Linked DNA regions of Homo sapiens: region 1 is linked to region 2. Evidence: promoter capture Hi-C in human tissues and cell types (Jung and others, 2019). All regions are on one chromosome and are shown on one strand. The core of a region is centred on a gene start or on the middle of the fragment in contact, and the rest is flanking DNA. Distances in the headings are between cores, read along the strand shown.

What was found. Contacts are between HindIII fragments. The study calls those that stand out against the background at their distance.
Region 1: a contact is called between a fragment that was not itself captured here and the fragment with the promoter of TLR5 in region 2, in 2 of the 25 tissues and cell types used here (mesendoderm cells and thymus).

The regions. Positions count from the first base shown.
Region 1 is chr1:222,778,115-222,782,686 of GRCh38, forward strand. No RefSeq gene overlaps it. Among named protein-coding and RNA genes, the nearest start is that of DISP1, 35 kb to the right of the region's middle. The HindIII fragment of the contact is 7,196 bases long and covers 1-4,572 here.
Region 2 is chr1:223,141,463-223,145,569 of GRCh38, forward strand. TLR5 (toll like receptor 5) reads right to left here and starts at 1,786. Exons shown (of 6, transcript NM_003268.6): 1 at 1,734-1,786; 2 at 186-301. It overlaps LOC124904522 (a long non-coding RNA gene), which reads left to right and starts at 1,893. Exons shown (of 2, transcript XR_007066895.1): 1 at 1,893-2,136. RefSeq lists a silencer at 1,575-1,944. The HindIII fragment of the contact is 6,140 bases long and covers 1-3,865 here.

The DNA.
Region 1 (4,572 bases), core at 547-3,046, 360 kb before region 2:
CGGTAGGCTCTATCATCCATGTTTATGTAAGGGCACTCTATGATGTTTACTCAAAGGCAGAATCACCTAATGATGCATTTCTCAGAACGTATTCCCATTGTTAAGCAATGCATGGCTGTATGCCAAAAGTGCTATTTCAAGTTAATGGGAAAACTATGGTTTATTTTAAATTGGTTATGACACAACTGGCCTAGAGAAGAATAAAATTGGGATCCCTGCTTCACACCATATACAAAAATAAATTTCCAGAAAAACTTAAACTCTATATGTAAACAAAAACTATAGAACAATTTTAAAAGAATATATGTGTAAGCTAGGGTTTGGAGAGAGAAACCTTTTTAATCAAGACAAGAGCCTAGAGGCAATAAAATATAAAATAAATATATTCGATGATATAAAATATAAAATGTTATATGGCAAAATAAAAACAAAATCACAAGACAAAAAGATTGATAAAAAGTATGTGCCACAAAAATAACTCACACATAAAATGAATATGCATATCTGTCAGAAGGTTCCTATAAATTGACTATCAACAGAATACAGAAATAGAGACAAATAAATATAAAAAGTCAATTTATAGAAGAGAAATGCAAATGGTCAATAAACCAATGAAAATATTTTCTAATGTGGAGAAAATGCAAATTAAAGTAACAATGAGATGTCTCAACTTATCTACCAAATTAGCAGACAATAAAAACTTACTATTGATGAAAATGTGAAAAAAACCTATTCTGTGCATATATTGCCAGGGGAAATTTGGATTGTTACAGCTTTTATGGAAAGCAATCCAGATATATATTTTAAATTTTACAATTTACATACTCTGATGGAGAAATCCTTCTGGAAATCTATCTGCTATAAGTGAAATTCCAATATGTAAAAATATACATGCAAAGATGTTTACCATAGCGTTGTTTGTTGCAGCAAAAAATTAGAAACTGAGTAAATGCCTTTCAATATGGTGGAAGAAACTGTGATACAATTAAGCCATGGAATATAAGTTAATTATTGAAAAGAACGAGTTGCAGCAGGGCATGATGGCTCACTCCTGTAATCCCAGCACTTTGGGAGGCCAAGGCAGTAGGATTGCTTGAGCCCAGGAGTTTGAGACCAGCCTGGACCACATAAGGAGATCCCGTACCTACAAAAAAATTTAAAAATTAGCCAGGTGTGGTGGCTCAGGAGGCTAAGATAGGAGGATTGCTTGAGCCTAGGTGGTCAAGGCTGCAGTGAGCCGTGATTGCACCACTGCACTCCAGCCTGGGTGACAGGGAAAACCCGTCTCAAAAAAAAAAAAAAGAATGAGTTGGATGTATACCACTGAGGGAAATTCCATAATGTATCAAGAGAAAAAAAAAAGTAAAAAAAACTAGACACAAAGGAATACAGATAATATGATCCCATTTTTGTAAAATACACATGAATTAGAAAAGAAAAGCTTATTATATATAGTTTATACGTGATTGTATGAATACAAATGAAGCATGAAAGAATAGATAACAGATTGTAAATTTTGGCAGAGGAGAGGAGTAATAGGAAACAAAAGGAGACTAAAGAATTTCCCTGTTCTTTTATAATAATTATTATTATTATTATTTACCACATGATTACTGATTTTTTTTTTTAACAGAGTCTCGCTGTGTCGCCCAGGCTGGAGTGCAGTGGTGCTATCTCGGCTCACTGCAACCTCCTCCTCCCGGGTTCAAGCGATTCTTGTGCCTCAGCCTCCTGAGTAGTTGGGACTACAGGTGCATGCCACCACGCCTGGCTAATTTTTGTATTTTTAGTAGAGACAGGGTTACACCATGTTGACCAGGCTGGTCTCAAACTCCTGACCTCAAGTGATCCACCCACCTCAGACTCCCAAACTGCTGGGATTACAGGTGTGAGCCACCACGCCAGGCTATGATTTTCTATTTAGTAGGAACGATAAAAAATATACGAGGATACTAATTTAAATACTGAGATATAGTTCTAAAATAAATTATGATTTTTCTTTTTTCTTTTATTTTAAAATATTTAATTGACAAATATTGTATATACTCAAGGTGTACAATGTGATGAGGCATATGCATATACATTGTGATATGGACAATCAAATTAACCCATCTATTACCACCTATGCTATACATTGGATCCCCAGAACTTTATCATCTTAAAACTGAAAGTTTGTACTCTTTGACCATCATCTCTCCATTTTTTCCACTTCGAACTCCTAGCAACCACCATTCTACTTTCTGCCCCTGAGTTCAACTTTTTGAGATTCCACATACAAGTGAGGTCATACAGTATTTGTCTTTCTGTGTCCAGCTTATTTCACTTAGAATAATATCCTTTAGGTTTATCAATGCTGTCACAAATGACAGGATTTTTTTTTATGGCTGAATAATCTTTCATTGTATCTAACACATTTTATTTACTCATTCATCTGTCAATGGGCACTTAGGTTGTTTCCATATCTTGGCCATCGTGAATAATGCTGCAACGAATATGGGGATATAGATATCTCTTCAAGATACTGATTTCATTTCATTTGGATATATACCCAGAAGTGGGATTGCTTGATCATATGGTAGTTCTATTTTTAATTTTTTGAGGAACCTCCATACTGTTTTCCATAATAGTTGTACCAATTGGTATTTCCACCAACAGTATACAAGGTTCCCTTTTCTTCATGCCCTTGTCAACACTTGTTATCTTTTTTCTTTTTGATAATAGCCATCCTAAGAGATGTGAGGTGATATCTCATTGTGGTTTTAATTAGAATTCTCTGGTGATTAGTGATTTTGAGCACTTCTTTATATATCTGTTGGCAATCTGTGTGTCATCTTTGGAAAAATGCCTATTTAGGTCTTTTGCCCATTTTTTAATTGGGTTACTTATTTTTTTGCTATGGAGTTTGTTGTACATTTTGATATTAACCCTTTATCAGATATATAGTTTGCATATGTTTTCTCCCATTTCACAGGTTGCATTTTCATTGTGTTGATTATTTCATTTGCTGTTCAGTAGCTTTTCAGTTTGATATAGTCCCATATGTTTATTTTTGCTTTTGTCGCTAGTGCTTTTGTTGACATATCCAAAACAGTCAGAAAACAATTAACAAAATGGCAACAGTATGCCCTTACTTATTAATAATTACTCTAAATATAAATGGATTACATTTGCTAATCAAAAGACACAGAGAGGCCGAATGGATTAATAAACAAGATCCAATAATATGCTAACTACAAGAGATTCATTTTAGTCTCAAGGGCACACAGACTGAAAGTGTAGGGGTGGAAAGAGATACTCCATGCAAACGGAAACCAAAAGAGAGCAGGGGTAGCTATATTTATATTAAACAAACTAGACTTTTAGTCAAAATCTGTCACAAGAGGTCAGGTGCTGTGGCTCATGCCTTGAATGCTAGCACTTTGGGAGGCTTAGGTGAGCGGTTCACTCGAGCACATGAGTTCAAGACCAGCCTGAGCAACATGGCAAAACTCCATCTCTACAAAAAATACAAAAATTAGCCAGGCATGTTGGTGTGTGCCTGTAGTCCCAGCTACTTGAGAGGCTGAGGTGGGAGGATGGCTTAAGCCCAGGAGGCAGAGGTTGCAGTGAACCAAGATTATGCCACTGCACTCCAGCCTTGGCAACAGAGCCAGACGTTATCTTGAAAAAAACAAATAAATAAAAAATAAACAAAATCTGTCACAAAAGACAAAGAAGATCACAATATGATGATAAGAGGTCAATTCATCAGGAGGGTATAACAATTGTAAATACATATGCACCTAACATTGGAGCACCTAAATATGTAAAGCAAATATTAACAGAACTAGAAAGAGAAACAGACAGCAATGCAATAATAATAAGGGACTTCAATCACCCACATTCAACAATGGATAGATCATCTAGAGAGAAGATTAGTAATGAAATAGCAGATGTGAATAAAACTATAGACAAATCAACCTACCAAACATAGACAGAACAATCCATTCAACAGAAGCAAACACACATTCTTCTCAGGAGCACACAGTACCTACTCCAGGGTAGATCACACGTTGGGCCACAAAACCAGTCTTAAATCTAAGAAGATTGAAATCATATCAAGTATCTTTTCTGATCGAAATGTTACAAAACTAAAAATTGACAATAGGAAGAATTTTAGAAAATTCACAAATACATAAAATTAAACAATACACTCCTGAACAACCAATGGATCAAAGAAGAAAACAAAAGAAACTCAAAAAGTGTCTTGAAACAAATGAAAATTGAACACAACATACCAAAACTTATGGGATGGGGCAAAAGCGGTGCTAAGAGGAAAGTCTGTGGTGATAAATGCCTACATTAAGGAAAAAGACAGACACCAAGTAAATAACCTAACTTCACACCTCAAGGAACTGGAAAAACAAACTAAGCTCAAGTCAGCAGAAGGTAGGAAATAAATATTAGAGCGGAAATAAATGAAATAGTCCGGGTGCGGTGGCTCATACCTGTAATCTCAGCACTTTGCGAGGCCGAGACAGGCGTATCACCTGAGGTCAGGAATTCAAGACCAGCATGGCCAACATGGCGAAA
Region 2 (4,107 bases), core at 536-3,035:
GCTGATTGTTGAAATTTAGATTATTTTTGGCCCAGCACAGTGGCTCACACCTGTAATGCCAGCACTGTGGGAGGCCAAGACAGGCGGATCACCTGAGGTCAGGAGTTTGAGATCAGCCCGACCAACATGGTGAAACCCCATTTCTACTAAAAATACAAAAATTAGACAGGCGTAGTGGTGGGTACCTGTAATCCCAGCTACTTGGGAGGCTGAGGCAAGAGAATCGCTTGAACCCTGGAGGCAGTGGTTGCAGTCAGCCGAGATTGTGTCACTGCAGTCCAGCCTGGGCGGCAGAGTGAGACTGTCTCAAAAAAAAAATTACATATATATATATATATATATATATATATATATATATATAGAGAGAGAGAGAGAGAGAGAGAGAGAGAGAGAGAAAGAGAGAGAGAGAGATTATTTTTGTACTGCTTAGTAATTAGCTTTAGCACGGTCTCTCCTCTGGGACCTCCCCTGGAATTTCCCCACAATCCAGTAACTGAATAATTAGCATCCAGCCCCACAGAACTTCTCCCAGGGCCCTGCTCCAGGGCTTCCCTTCTGACTGGCTGTGCATGGCACACTGGGAATTGTTTTCTGCCCACAAGAACAAGGGTGAACTGAGTCAAGGAGTCCAAGAGATCTTGGACGCACTTCTCAGAATTCGGAGGGGCTGGGTAAATGCAGGAGAAAATTGATGAAACCACATTGGCCCTGCAAGAGCCTGACTGCTCCTGCACGGTAGCTACCCCTAGCATTAGCGGGGAGTCACCAATGCCTCTTCCAGGCACTGAGCAAGAGGGCGGCATTACAGATGCACTTGCCGTCCAAACAGATCATCTCATTGACTAGGTGACTGCTCAGCAACAGTATCTGAAGGACACTAGGGTTACTCTGCTTGTTTGCAGTTCACGGTGCTGGACGGATGTGTTCCCAACACTAGGTAACAACACCGCTCTCCCTCCTCCGGGAGAAAGCCGCAGCCGTCGATTCCCACCCAACAGGGCCTCAGCGCCTTCCCAGGGCAGCACCCTCACTCCTGCAACCACCAATCACCCAAGCCACAGCATGGTCCCAGACCCACCCTCGCCCCTTAGGAAATGGCTTTCCAATTGTGTTTTCACAGGAGCATGGCCACTGGGCAATGATCTTCACAGGCAGGCTTTTTTTTCCCCCTCTCAACATAAAGGCCAGCAATATTTACCACGGAGTCTTGGCCAGTGTGCACTGCCTGGTGCTGTGGGGTGGGGTGTTTAGGGCCTTTTGTTGAGCAGCTCAGTGACTTTCTGGGATTTCCATGGCCCTGCTGGAGATGGCCCTCTGTCTCCCTTTTCCAAGGAAGAAAGTGACTGGGGACAAGCCACCTGCCTCTTCCACAGGGTGGGGGCGAGAGTGACAGCGAGACAGCACAAGAAGGACCCGCTCTGTTTCAAAGCGAGGATGTGAGTGACTTCGTCTGTGCCGAGGTCTCTTCGTCTCCAACCTGCCGGGCACAGGGCACCCACATGACACGCTCACCCCGTCCCTGGGCCGAGGGACCCCACGTCTCGCGGGTGCCGCGGGGCAGAGAGCGCCGCCTAGTGAGGCGGCGCGAGTTGGACATAGACTGGAAAATAGACCCGGACAGCCCGGGAGGAGGGCGGAGAGGAGTCCGACCTCCGCAGGCAGCCGCGTCCCCGCCCCGCGCTGCCTACGACTTAGGGCCCCCGGCCCATCCCCTGCCGCTGCAGGGCGCTCACCTCTGGGACGCCTCCCCGCGCCGCCTGCGCCACGGTTGGCTCCTCCCGGACGCAAAAGCGGCGCCCTCGCTCGGGCTCCTGAAAACCTCGCGGCCCCGCCCACGGAAGGGCCCGCCCACCTGCCAGGCCACGCCCCCGTCTCGGCCACGCCGCAGCTCAGGGTTTTCTCTGAGGGCTGTGAGAGGCTAGGCCCGGGGAGAGGAGGCAGAGGTTATGCTCCGGTCTCTGCAGACTTCCACAGTGTCTATCGAGATCACACATGCCAGCATTGCCCCCTCCCATCCTCTCCTCATCGTACGGAGGAGGAAACCCAGGCCGAAGACCTGAAGTGTCCAAAAGCACAGCCAGGCCAAAGAGAAGCACCATCCCATGTTCTCCCACTCCCACTCCGGTGCTTCTTCAGGTAGGCTAAACTTCAGGCTAAAATGTGAAGATCACAGTGACACATTCCTGTCAGCAGAATCTGCTGCATATGTTTGGGAGCTGGGGTGTTTGGAAGCTCCGATTTTGTGTGGAGGACCCAAGAGAGAAGACAGACCCTTCCTGTCCTATAAGAACAGTGCTCCTCCTGCCCTAACTTCTCTTTTCCTTTTTCTAACTCCCTCTGCCTATGGGGTTTGCTGAAACTTTCAGGAAAAGGGACGTGTCAAAAGAAAGAAATGGACACCCCAGAGGCCGTGCAACCACAGGGTTAAAAGGAGGTAGCCTTATGAGAAAGCGGTGGAGTGGCTTTCTGGGGTGAAACCCAGTTCAAGGACAGAAATAGCACTGTCTTGAGTTAAGACTGGTGGTGGGGGAAGCCTGGGGGTGGGGCGCAGACTGCAGGCGGAGGAGCTCCCTGCCACCTGCCACTTGGGGTGTAATCACAGAGCAGCTGACACTCCCCACTCACTGCCTGGAGGAGCTTGGCGGTGGGATCGGGCAAGGCGGGAAAGATAGGTGTAAAACAAAGCCTGGCACTTAATTACAGTGCAAAGATCTCATTATAGAGTCTTCTCAGCTCCCCTCCTCGGCTGGCAGCTTGAAGCCTGAGTGACAAATTGCCTAGGTAGGTCTCCAAGGGCTGTATGTAGAGGGATGAAACCACCTCCCTGCCCACCCGAACCCCACTGTGGGGGCTGTGGAGAGGGAGGGGATGTTCACACTCTGGCATATGCAGGGGGCAGTGGGGAAGTCTGTAAGGGCACCTAGAAAGCAGTAAGAGCTGGGAGCCACAGTGGCCCTAGCCTGACATAAATAACACCTTGCTGGGGCAAGCCCAGTGTTCCCTCTTTTGGTAGTGGAACCGAGGGCAAGGTTGGGGACAGCTTGACGTGTGGCACTGTTTACTCTGCATCATAGGTGGATGCTGCAAGACCAGCAGGGGCCTGGCTTATCATGCAACTTTGTGAATATGTGGGAGAGAGGAGCCTTCCAGACGGTGTTATGGCCTCCCAGGAACTCCCAAAGCCCCCTCCCCAGGGTGGCATCTGGTTTTGGACACTGGTTTCTGTCACTGAGCTCCAGGGACTCATGTCACACCTGGAAGAACTTTTAGATTCTGTCTGCCTGGCCATGTCTTCCAACAGCCGAGATCATTGAGGAAGATGACAACTTCTACCTGAACAGCCAGGACAGCTTAGGGTCTTCTCACATGTGGACCTTGAAATGCACTTCTGTTATTTTTCTCCAGTATATTCAGGGGAAGGGGGCTGGTGATCAAAGCTTTTGCTGAGCAGGAACAGAAGGGTTGTCACTTGCTTTTTTCTCCACTGAAACCTAGAGTAGCAAACACATCCTCGGGGTGCTATGTGATGCTCACAGGCAGAGCCCTGCCAGAGGTTCCCGTCATTCCCATATATTAAACCTTCAATGTCTTCCCTATGAACTACAAACAAAGTTTATATTCTAGGTCAAAACCCCATCGTCTAGCCCCTGACAACTTCTCTAGGCTTGTCTGCTTCCAGCCCCAACCTCCCAGTCCCCAGCCTCAGCAGCTGCCTTCCACTTGCTTAAGGTCTTCACGCATGCTATTTCTTCTACCTGGAATACTCTTTCTCCATGACTTTGCGTAGCTCACTCCTACCCACATTTTAGTGTTCCCTGTAATGTAACTTCTTCAAAGAGAACTTCCCTAACTCTTCTAATTAAATTAGGTCCCTCCCATTATTCTTCCTCTTTATAACCTATTCTTTTCCTTCACAACTCTCATTTCAATTTATGATTTTACATGGACATGTTTATTGGTTCAAGGTCAGCCTGTCCTTCATACTTAATAGATTTAATAGACTGTAAGCCTCACGAGGGTAGGGGCCATGTCTGATTTGTTCACTTCAAATCCAGTATCTGACAAGTGTCTCCCTATAAATATTTATTGATGAATGAATGAGTGAAT